Linked DNA regions of Homo sapiens: regions 1 and 2 are each linked to region 3. Evidence: promoter capture Hi-C in 16 types of primary human blood cells and fetal thymus (Javierre and others, 2016). All regions are on one chromosome and are shown on one strand. The core of a region is centred on a gene start or on the middle of the fragment in contact, and the rest is flanking DNA. Distances in the headings are between cores, read along the strand shown.

Region 1 (3,760 bases), core at 699-3,198, 590 kb before region 3:
GGCCTGTGTGGCTGGAACATAGAGTACAAGGATGAGTGAGTCTGCAGAGGTCAACAGGCCAGACCCATCCCTGATGGGTCTCCTCCTGCAAAAGGCCTGCGCGTTGGGCTCTCCCACTCTCTGTAGGGAAGGAACTATCATTTCCGTGAGACAGACCCAGCAACCTTCCAGACACAAACAGTTGAGCTCCAAGTCACTTCTGAGCTCTACCATGTGGTCATGTACCTTTCAGTGGGGGCAGTTCACCCCCAGGTAAAGGCAGTTTGGAATTTGGCAGGGATGTTTTTAATTGAGTGGGCAGTGGCCAGAAATGCTATCTGTCCTGCAATGTTCAAAACAGTCCCACCCAATGAAGAATTGTGCTGCTTCTCCCGTGGCTTTTCAATACCCCACCGGATCTCTGCATTGGTAGGACACCTACTTATAATTATCTGAGCCCAGAACCTCGTTCTTTTTCGTGTGTAAACACAGGGTGTTTTGGGTTTTTTGTTTTTGTTTTTGTTTTTGTTTTTGCATCCTTTTCATGTATGCTGAATTTGCCAGGAATGTGAGTCCCACGCAAATCAAGCAGAGCCTGTGCTTTGTTTTGTTCAGAAATTTATCAAAAGTCTTGCACCGTTTCAGAAAAAATTGCATCAGCAATAGTTAACACAGCTCATGTTTATGAGTCACCAGGACAACATGCCTGTCTCTGTCTGCTTTTGTAGCTGTCAATTCACAATTATTCTGAGACTCTGACTACTTTATTACGTATTTGAGTGTAGTTGTACCCAAGGGTTTACCTATTGAACTACATATATACATTTCTTTTGTTTTCCTTTGTATTACAGTTTGGCACTGTCTCAAATTTTTAAAAATTTGTGTGTGTGCATAGAGTAATATGATGTATGAATTTCATTTCAGAATAGTAAAGAGAGTATTAAAAATATTTGTTACAAACGGAGGAGCTGGGGCTGACAGGGCTGCAAAGTGCTGCAGGAGTCTCCATGCTTCTTCCCAGCACACGTGGGGGTTTTCTCCAGGTGCTCTGAAGACTGTCACATGGTCTAACTAATGTGGTTTAATATTGCCATTCTACAGATCAAGGCAGCGGCTAAGAGGACAAAATGACATGTCACAGTCACACAGCCTCCAGCCACAGAGTCAGGACCAAGAACCAGTCCTGAGGGCGTCTGCTTCTGACCACTCTTCACAAGCCTACAGATGCCAGACACCTGGAGACTCCACTGAACACCCTCATGTGTGCTGACCTCCCGATGGTTTATGGTTTTAGGAAGGGCGCCCAGACTGCATGGTCCAGGCCCCACTGAGAAGGGACGCCACGAATTTACCCAAGTCACCTGGGGTCTCCTCCACCCTCCCTGGAGCCTTCTTTGTCCACCTCTTCACTAGTTCTGCTAATGGGTCTCCAACATCTGGGTGTGTAAGAATGGTGATGGGAGGCAGAGGCAGACTGGGAGTTGCCAGCCACTCCCTCGGCGATTCCAATGCAGTGGGCTGGGCTCCAGGGATCTGCCTTCTCAACACATAGCCCAGATAATTCTGATGCAGGGACACCAGTAACCACACTTTTAAGAAACATAGCCTGAAAGGCGACAGTTTCCCTAGGTTTTGTCTTTGGGCTTCTTCTTCCTATTGACTCTCTCCCTTCTATGAAAAAAGGCTCTATAGCCAGGCACAGGGGCTCATGCCTATAATCCCAGCACTCTGGGAGGCTGAGGCGAGAGGACTGCTTGAACCCAAGAGTTCGAGACCAGCATGGGCAACACAGTGAGACCCCACCTCTTCAAAAAATAAAAAAATTAGCCAGGCATGGTGGCGCACACCTGTAGTTCCAGCTACCGGAAAGGCTGAGGTGGGAGGATTACTTGAGCCCAGGAGGTTGAGGCTGCAGTGAGCTATGATTGCACCACTGCGCTCTAGCCTAAGAGACAGAGTGAGACCCTGTCTCCAAAAAATTAAAAATAAAAAAAAGGTCCCAAATCTGTACTCCCATCCTTCACATTCTCCTGTTGTTCCAGACCTACAGCTCCTCCTGCATGTTTCCAACTGGACCTCCACGTTACAAATTAAGGTTTTTTTGTTTTTTTGTTTCTTTTTGTTGTTGTTGTTTTAGACACAGTCTCATTCTGTTGCCCAGGCTGGAGTGCAGGGTTGCAATCTCGGCTCATTGCAATCTCCCCCTCCCAGGTTCAAGCGATTCTCCTGCCTCAGCCTCCCAAGTAGCTGGGATTACAGGTGCCCGCCAGCATGTCTGGCTAATTTTTGTATTTTTAGTAGAGATGGGATAAACCATGTTGGCCAGGCTGGTCTCGAACTCCTGACCTCAGGTGATCCACCCACCTTGGCCTCCCAAAGTGCTGGGATTACAGGTGTGAGCCACTGCACCTGGCCTACAAATTAAGTTTTAAAACACCAACGTTAGACTCTCCTTTATTTAATGGGAGAAGAGACACTTACAAATGAGTAATCATTTTGAGATGTGGAAAGGGCTGTAATCGGGGGGGTGTAAAAGTTGTAATCATGTGCCAATCATAACGGACAACAGGGTACCTATGTCTTTGGCAATGGCAGAAGCAAGAGGCATGGAAGGCAAAGAGATCAATCAACCTGGAAGGATGAGGAGGACATTCCAGGTAAAGGGAGAGGCAGATGCAAAAGCAGGAAGGAATGAGCAAGAAAACCTTCAAAATCAACAAGAGCCTGTGGGCAAGGATGCTGGAGACCAGATATGGCAAGGAGAGGAGACAGTGGAGGGGCTGGATTCTGTTCTGTTGCCCAAACTACAGGAGAAACACCTCCCAGGAGCACAGTGAGCAATGGCAGATTGAAGGGGAAGGAGGGAGACTGAATAGAGCTTCCTTGGTCCAGGAGTTTCTCAACCCACAGGCCATTGAATTGGACTTGCAGACACCACTTTGAACCCTGGAGTCTAACTCATGCTTCATTCACAAACTATGCAATCAAATGACATACTGCGGCCACTCACCCCTGGTTTCATTTTTAACCCATGCATTGATGGAATCACAGGCAGAGGCTGGATCCTCAAAGTTCACATTCCGGACCTCACACTGGAACACATCTTTGTTCCTTGTAACAAAAGGCACTTCAATTTCAGAGGCATTCTTAACAAACACGGCGTTAGCCACTGTCACAATGTCTTTATTCTTCTTGGAGACGATGGCCTTGTTGATCTTCTTTAATATTTTACCAACTCCTAAAAGAGAAATCAGAAGATACAGCAATACTTCCATAAGAATCTAGAAAAGTTTTTAAAATCTTTTATGTTGCAGCAAGTAAGAACAGTATAGGCCAGGTGCAGTGGCTCACACCTGTAATCCCAGCAATTTGAGAGGCTGAGGTGGGTGGATTGCTTGAGCTCAGGAGTTTAAGAACAACCTGGGTAATATGACAAAACCCTGTCTCTACCAAAAATACAAAATTAACTGGGTGTGGTGGCACGCCTGTGATACCAACTACTTGAGGAGGCTGAGGTGGGAGGATCGCTGGAGCCTGGGAAGTCGAGGCTGCAGTAAGCCATGATCGGGCCCCTGCATACAGCCTGGGTGACTAAGCAAGACCCTGTCTCAAAAATAAAAATAACAGAACAGTATAAACAGGATAGCTATGAGTAGCAAGAAACTAAGTCTTCTGTTCTCTCAGGGGCCTATTTCTTAAGAAAAGGAGGGAGTGGGGTTAAAGTCTAACCACTGAAGCTCTCAAAAATCAACTGTGCTTCTGCATCAAAACAGGAATATTC
Region 2 (3,696 bases), core at 339-2,838, 750 kb before region 3:
TTCATTGCCAACCATTCAACAGTACATTCTGCCCCATAAGCCTTTTTAAACACACTGGGCTCAGCTCGTGGGATTCCTGAAGTGCAATAGCCCTAACACTGTTTTCCAAGGTAGAGATTTCTAAAAGGTGAGATGGAGTACACAGTTGCTTCAAACAGTGTGATCCAGATACAAACACAGTCCCAACATGCACCAGATATGAAATCTCTGTGCCAGAAACCAGGGTCACTGGCACCATGGAATCAAGAACCATTTTCTGTGTGTAAAGTACTAGGTGCCTAGATCTGCCAGTAAGCATCTACCAGTTTCCTAGCATAAAAGTCAGCAAAAGTCAGGAATGAAGCAGCAGGAAAGACAGGGAGTTACACAGTGAGCCTCAACAAAGGTCTCAGAGCAGCTGGGCACTAGCGAGGGCCGCCAATTCTTTCTTACAACTTGAAGGTAATAACAGAGGAGAGGTGATGGTTACTGAGCATTTACAATGGCAAAGCTGTTTGAAGCGCCTTCACACGCATTCACTTATGGTACCTGTTAAACTCCGGGACAGTGATTATGAAACTTTTTGGATGCCTTTACACTCTTTTTATTTATTTATTTATTTATTTATTTATTTATTTATTTATTTGAGATGGAGTTTTGTTCTTGTTGCCCAGGCTGGAGTGCAATGGCACGATCTTGGCTCACCACAACCTCCACCTCACGGGTTCAAGCGATTCTCCTGCCTCAGCCTCCCAAGTAGCTGGGATTATAGGCATGCGCCACCACACCCAGCTAATTTTGTATTTTTAGTAGAGACAGTGTTTCTCCATGTTGATCAGGCTGGTCTCAAATTCCTGACTTCAGGTGATCCGCCTGCCAATCCCAAAGACCTTTTTGTTTATGTGGGTTATATCCACTGATATTTATTGTATTTGAAATTAAAATGAAAAAATAGATATTAACATATTTTAAAATAATACGACTTGGGCAACATAGGTAGGCTTCATTTCTACAAAAAGTAAAAAATTCCACTGGGCCCAATTGTTCATGCCTATAATCTCAGCACTTTGGGAGGACAAGGTGGGAATATTACATGAGTTCAGGAGTTCAAGACCAGCCTAGGCAACAAAGTAAGACCTCATTTATACAAAAATCAAAAAATTACCTGGGCATGATGGCACACACCTGTGGTCCCAGCTACATGGAAGGCTGAGGTAGGAGGATGCCTTGAGTCCACTGGGTTGAGGCTGCAGTAAGCCATGTTCATGCTACTGCACTCTACTCTGGGTGATAGAACAAGCCTTGTCTCAAAATAAATAAATAAATAAATAGCTGGGCATGGTGGGACATGCCTACAGTCCCAGCTACTCAAGAAGCTGAGGTAGGAGGGTTGCTGGAGCCTAGGAGGTTGAGGCTGCTGTGAGCTGTGATCACACCACTGCACTCAGCTTGGGCGACACAGAGACCCTGTCTCAAAAATAAATAAATAAAAAGAAAAAACAATAGTAAACCTATTACACATTAAACATAAATAACATTTTTATGACCAATAACAATATTTTTCCAAAGCAAAAAAAAAATTAGTGAAAAGCATGGCACTGTTTTACAATTTTGCAAATCTCCTTAATGTCTGGGCTTATCAAAGACAGTTGGACTTTCCTATCTGCATCTGTGTTCAATCTGTTGTACTATCTCAGCTTATGTAGACACAAGAAAACTTCACTGTAGTCTTGTGAGAATGAGAATGAAATGGGAAAATTAATATCTTAGTATTATTATGAAAATAGTTTTGACCTTGCAGACCTCCAGTAAAAGTCTTGGGGACTGCTGGGGGTACCCAGGTCACACTTTCAGAACCTCTGCCTTATGAGTTAGGAGATATTATCTCCATTTTTCAAATGGGCAAACTGAGACAGAGAGGTCAAGGAATTGTCCAAGGCCATACTGCTAGAATAGCTCAGAGTAGCTAAAATGCAATGAGCATAACAGATTTAACCTCAATTGTTTGTTGCAAGGATTGAATGAGATCGTGAATATAAAGAGCAGGACATCCTGCTTGTCTTATCACAAATGCCCAATAACATTAATGTTTCCCCGCCAGGTGCGGTGGCTCATGCCTGTAATGCCAGCACTTTGGGAGGCCGATGCAGGTGGATCACGAGGTCAGGAGTTTGAGACCAGCCTGGCCAACATGGCAAAACCCCGTCTCTACTAAAAATACAAAAATTAGCTAGGCGTGGTGGCGGGCGCCTGTAATCCCAGCTACTTAGGAGGCTGAGGCAGGAGAATTGCTTGAACTCGGGAGATGGAGGTTGCAGTGAGCCAAGATCATGCCACTGCACTTCAGCCTGGGTGACAGAGCAAGATTCCGTCTCGAAGAAAAAAAAATAATAATAATGTTTCCCATTTAGCAAAAACTGGTAGAAAAGCTGGAGAAACTTCCCACATTTCTGATCAACTCATCACACATATGACACCAGCAAGAAAAAATAAAACTCCACCACAGGTATTGTCCAGAGGAGCAGCTTTTCCTTATAGACCAAACCTTGGCCCATTCCTCAGCACAAAAGCAGCCTTTGATGACTCAGAAACGCAGGGCCTTATTCCAGCCTCTGTTAGGCAAATTACACTGGTGGACTGGGCATCTGTCACCTTGTTCCTTGGGAAACTTGAGCAAGCCAAGAAACCTGCTCCATTATTTACAGCATTGTTTTTGCATCACGCTGTATTTACAAGGAACCCTCAACAGACAAAAATGATGCCGCTAGTGTGTGCAGCCAAACCTTTAACAGAAACCAGCAACTGCGGTCTTGCTGGCCAGGTGCTCAGCACTCCCCGGCTCTCTTTGTTGATCAACTTTCTTAGCCCACGTGGCCCACCCACTCCTGCCTCCGGTGGGCCCACAGGGTGCAGGTCACTTCCCTTCTGCGGATTTGGGAAGTGGTAACACACTTGGGGAAGTGGGACTAGTGACGTTCAGACCACCACACTCTTAAAAGGCTGCCCCTAAACAGCAGGCAAGAGCAAGAGGAGCCTGAGCTATCGCTTCCACCCAAGTGCAGGTCACCAGATCTCTCATCAGCAGGGCTGCGGCCGGCCTCAGCTTCCAACCTGACCCCCTATCCCCTGCCCTTACACACCCCAGTCCATTCTCCAACCACAGCCAAACTGCACACCATGCCGGGTGCAGTGGCTCACCCCTGTAATCCCTACACTTTGGGAGGCCGAGGCAGGCGGATCACCTGAGGTCAGGAGTTCGAGACCAGCCTGGCCAACATGGTGAAACCCCGTCTCTACTAAAAATACAAAAATTAGCTGGGTGTGGTGGCACACGCCTGTAATCCCCGTTACTCGGGAGGCTGAGGCAGGAGAATCGCTTGAACCCGGGAGGCAGAGCCGAGACCACACCACTGCACTTCAGCCTGGGCGACAGAGCGAGATCAGTCTCAAAAAAACAAAAGTGCACAACGGGTAAGGTCAGTTTTCTTGCTAAAACGTCCCCGAGGTTTCCCCTACTCAGTTGGAACCAAAACCAAACTCCTTATTTTGGCCTATAAAAACCCGCCTCACCTGGCAGAAGCCCACCTCTCCTGCCACAAACAAGGCCTTCTCCCCTCCGCTTTGCTCTCTCTAATCCACCTGTAGCGCCCCTCCAGGACCTCCAGCAGCTAGAATGTCATGTCCTTGAAGAGGCTTTGCCAAATCAAAAGTTGCCAC
Region 3 (3,540 bases), core at 415-2,914:
TCTGCATGAGGTGTATCCTTTTAAATTTTAGGAATTCAGAGAGGTCCTCATGTTCTCTGAAACTAAATCACTTGACTCAACTGGGGCAATCACATCAAGGTAAGTCTTTCCTCACTGCAACTGCGCTTCAGGAAAAGCATGCTTTAAAAAGTGACAACAAATCCCCCTCTTTCGCTGGTACATCATATGAAGTATTTATGAATCTAAGAAGGGAAGACCAAGATCTTTCTCTAATTTTACTTTTTAAAATCTTCTGTCCGATTGCTAGTTCGTCTGTCTTGACGTATGCCTTTTATTGTAGCGACATAGGCAAGTATGCCCAGTTCGTTAACAGTACATTTTAATTGCTTGCCACGGGGAAGCTGAACCAGATTTGACACCCAAAGTTATATCCTATATACTAAACATCGCAAGGGTACGACTCAACGTAATGCCAAAAAAGAAAAAGTTTCTGAGCAGAACACGTTTGCTGTCACTGAAAGCGATGAAACAAAGCTACTCCGCAAGGCGACTACACTCATTCTTTGGGCTCCCAAGGCTGAGAAATGGAGAACCAATTGGCCGGTTTGCTCTCTGTTGCTTCCCCCCCACCCGGCCTTCCTCCGAGTGGCGAGGCAATCCTGCACAAGAGTTTGTAAAGTGCTTAGGAAGCTTGTAGGATGAAAGACGCTATAAATACACCCAATGTTACTAGTTTATGACCACGGAGCATTCCGTGGAACCACTGTCACTGCGTCGGGGGCAGGTTGATGGCATAGACCTTCCTGGGGAGGGGGGCAGAGAGAGAGGGCAGCCCCTTCATCACCCTAAAAGCTAGGCTGGGTAAATTTTCAAAGTGTAGCGAAACCCCACGTGAAAAGTTCCACACACGCCCCACACAGGGAGGACTCCGCGGCTGCTAGCAGCGCCGGAGACTGGGCCTACAACCCCGGCAACGTGGGGAGGCGTGGGGCGGCCGAGGGGCCCCGGCCGCAGCCGACGCCCGCGGAGCGGCTGAAGGAGCAGCTCCCGGACGGGGGCGCGGCGCCAGGCCCGGGCTCCCGGCGCGGGGAACGGCCCGGGAGGGCGGCCGCGCCGGGGCCCCGCGCCGCCCGGTTGCCGGGAAGGCTCGCGCCCCGCGGCCGGCGGGCGTGGGGGAGGGGAGGCCGGGCCTGCGGCCTGTTGGGGGACTTCAGCCCGGGCCTCGCGTGCGGCTCTCGGCCCGGCCCCCGGCCCCGGGGTCCCGGACGCCGAGGAGAGACTCACCGGAAAGGCCCGGATCCGCATCTTGGTGTCCTTCCGGCTGCCCGTGCCTTTGCTCAGATTCGACATGGTGCTCGTCCCCTCCCCGGCGGCGGCTTCAGGTCGCGCTCCGCGACGCCGGTGTCACATTTAAGGCGGGCAGGCAGGCTAGGGGCGACGCTGGGGGCGGCGGCGGCGCGACCCCCGGGCAGGGCTGGGGAGCTGGCCGGCCCCTGGGCAGCCGCGGCGGCGGCGGGGGCGGCGGCGGCGGCGGCGGCGGCTCGGACTCTGGCGACTCCGATGCGGCTGGGGGGCTGCGCTGGCGCGGCGGCTCCGCGGGGTCCCCCTCACGTCCGGCTCGGCTCCCTTTATCGCGCTCCTCCGCGATGGCGGCGGCGGCGGCGACGGACAAACATCTCACTGCGCAGGCCGAACGTCGTCCTCCTCCTCCTCCTTCTCCTCCTCCGCCTGAGCGAGACGAGATCCGGCCCAGAGGGTGGAGGGGGGAGGAGGGAGGGAGGAGAGCCGGAGAGTGAGAGATGCCGGGGGAGGGAGGTGGGAGGACGGGAGGGGGAGCCCGGCGGCCGCCGCGGGGGACGCTCAGATCTCGCGAGAAGAGGGCGAGCGCGCTGCCCCCCTGGTGGGCGGGGCGAAGCCCGGGAGAGGGTGGGCGCCACCGGAGGGGAGGAGGGGAACAGGGAACTGAAGGAAGTGGGAGGGGCCGGCGGGGCGGGGAAGCGGAAAGGGGGCGTGGCTGAGGGCGGGAGGATTAAGCTGCCTTTTTGAAAGTGGAGCGCCAGGTCCCGGGTTCTGGGTGGAGGTGGTTGCTGATTGGTGGAGCTCGGAGCGGCGGTTGGGAGGGTCCTGGTCACATGGTGGGGAGTGGGAGGGGGGAAGTTCGGAGAGCGGGAGCGGGATGGTAGTGGGCTGGGCCCCACTGGGCTGGGACAGCAGGAGGATAGTCTTGAGGAGGAGCGTGGGGTGCTAGATGTGTAACTACGTCCCGAACTGGTTCCTGTGTTTTTCTAGGGCATGTGGACTAGGGATGGGTACTTGAGTAGAAGCCTGCAACTTGAAGAGTTTGTGCAGGAGTTAGCTGCAGTGTCGGAAATTAGTGTCCTGTATGCTCAACAAGGTATTCGGACTGGGTGTGCACACCACAGCTCTCAGGACTGGAAGGTGGAAATTTAATCTACGAAGTTCCCTTAAACTGCATAAGCTTCGGGACCTCTTGATTCACTGATATTTTCTGGTGGACCCAGGGCTTATTCATGTTAAAACCTGTTTTTCATTACCATCAGAATAAACTGACAGCTCCATTAATGAAATGCAGCATTTGGTAAATAATGTTAAGTGGAATGATAGAAACCTATCTTTAACCTACCGGATAAATCATTTCTACCATTACCAAGAGTATTGTAGATTTTTAAAGCCAAAATTACCGTCTGATTCAGTTGCTGTATATTTGAAAAGGTTTTGGCTTTTGGTTTTGGAGGAGAGGCGTTTGGTCGCTTTATAGTCAAAATGTCTAATTTGACTTATCGGTTTTGCTGTCCATTTGTTATGAATTGTACTTCCTCATTTACCTACTTGCCCAATTGCTGTTATGTTTGGGTTTCTGACTCTGCAAGGGAATACGTGAGTTCTTATTAAAGTTTGTGTTCTTCCTATTTTAAAGAAGCATATGTTTGGGGGATGGATATCTACATTTAGAAGCTGGAATTTTAATACTTTTAAATAGCAAACAATATAAAGTGAAATACACTTATTTGTTGACTGTAAGGTTGAATTTGCCCTAAATTAACTTAATCCTGATGACTAAGCTTATGAGTGTTGTGCTTAAAGCCCCTTCTTGCTTAAAACGCCCCACTGCAAATACCATATTTTCTTGTTTTTTTTTTTTTTTTGTGGGAGTTTTTTGGTATTGGCTAATTAAAGCAGGAGCTTAAGAAACAAGAATGTTGCTTAAGACAATATCTGTAAATACTGAAGCTAAAAATAGGTTATCAAGAACTGAGTTGATAAACTAAGATTGGGAGAGGCTCTGACTTCAATGTAAGATAATGTCAGCCTTGAATAGGAGTTTATAATCTCTATGCTAATTGAACCTCCATTTCCATAACATAATATAATAACAAACAATGTTTTTCTCTTGGTTGTACTCTCATATGGCCCAGTTTCTTTGTAATGTAAGAATATATGTTCAGAATAGGGATCTCTGAGGAACCAAAAAAAGAAATAAAAAAATATTTTAAAAAAGAATATGTGTTCTTGGAGCCATTGTTTGAATCTCAATTCTGCCACTTTACTAGCTGTGTT

Evidence for each region. The method cuts DNA at HindIII sites, captures the fragments that hold promoters and counts their contacts. A CHiCAGO score of 5 or more calls a contact.
Region 1: a fragment that was not itself captured here is called in contact with the fragment with the promoter of CUL3 in region 3 in 1 of 17 cell types (erythroblasts); the score reaches 8.2 in erythroblasts.
Region 2: a contact is called between a fragment that was not itself captured here and the fragment with the promoter of CUL3 in region 3, in 4 of 17 cell types (naive B cells, total B cells, monocytes and 1 more). The highest score is 8.7, in naive B cells.

Annotation. Positions count from the first base shown.
Region 1 is chr2:223,995,126-223,998,885 of GRCh38, forward strand. It overlaps SERPINE2 (serpin family E member 2), which reads right to left. Exons shown (of 9, transcript NM_001136528.2): 3 at 2,990-3,217. Among named protein-coding and RNA genes, the nearest start is that of MRPL44, 40 kb to the left of the region's middle. The HindIII fragment of the contact is 4,324 bases long and covers 1-3,760 here.
Region 2 is chr2:223,833,301-223,836,996 of GRCh38, forward strand. All of the region lies in intron 1 of AP1S3 (adaptor related protein complex 1 subunit sigma 3), which reads right to left. Among named protein-coding and RNA genes, the nearest start is that of AP1S3, 2.4 kb to the right of the region's middle. RefSeq lists an enhancer at 3,689-3,696. The HindIII fragment of the contact is 4,436 bases long and covers 1-3,696 here.
Region 3 is chr2:224,583,699-224,587,238 of GRCh38, forward strand. CUL3 (cullin 3) reads right to left here and starts at 1,665. Exons shown (of 16, transcript NM_003590.5): 1 at 1,246-1,665. The coding sequence starts at 1,311. RefSeq lists silencers at 1,129-1,388, 1,719-2,138. The HindIII fragment of the contact is 1,789 bases long and covers 650-2,438 here.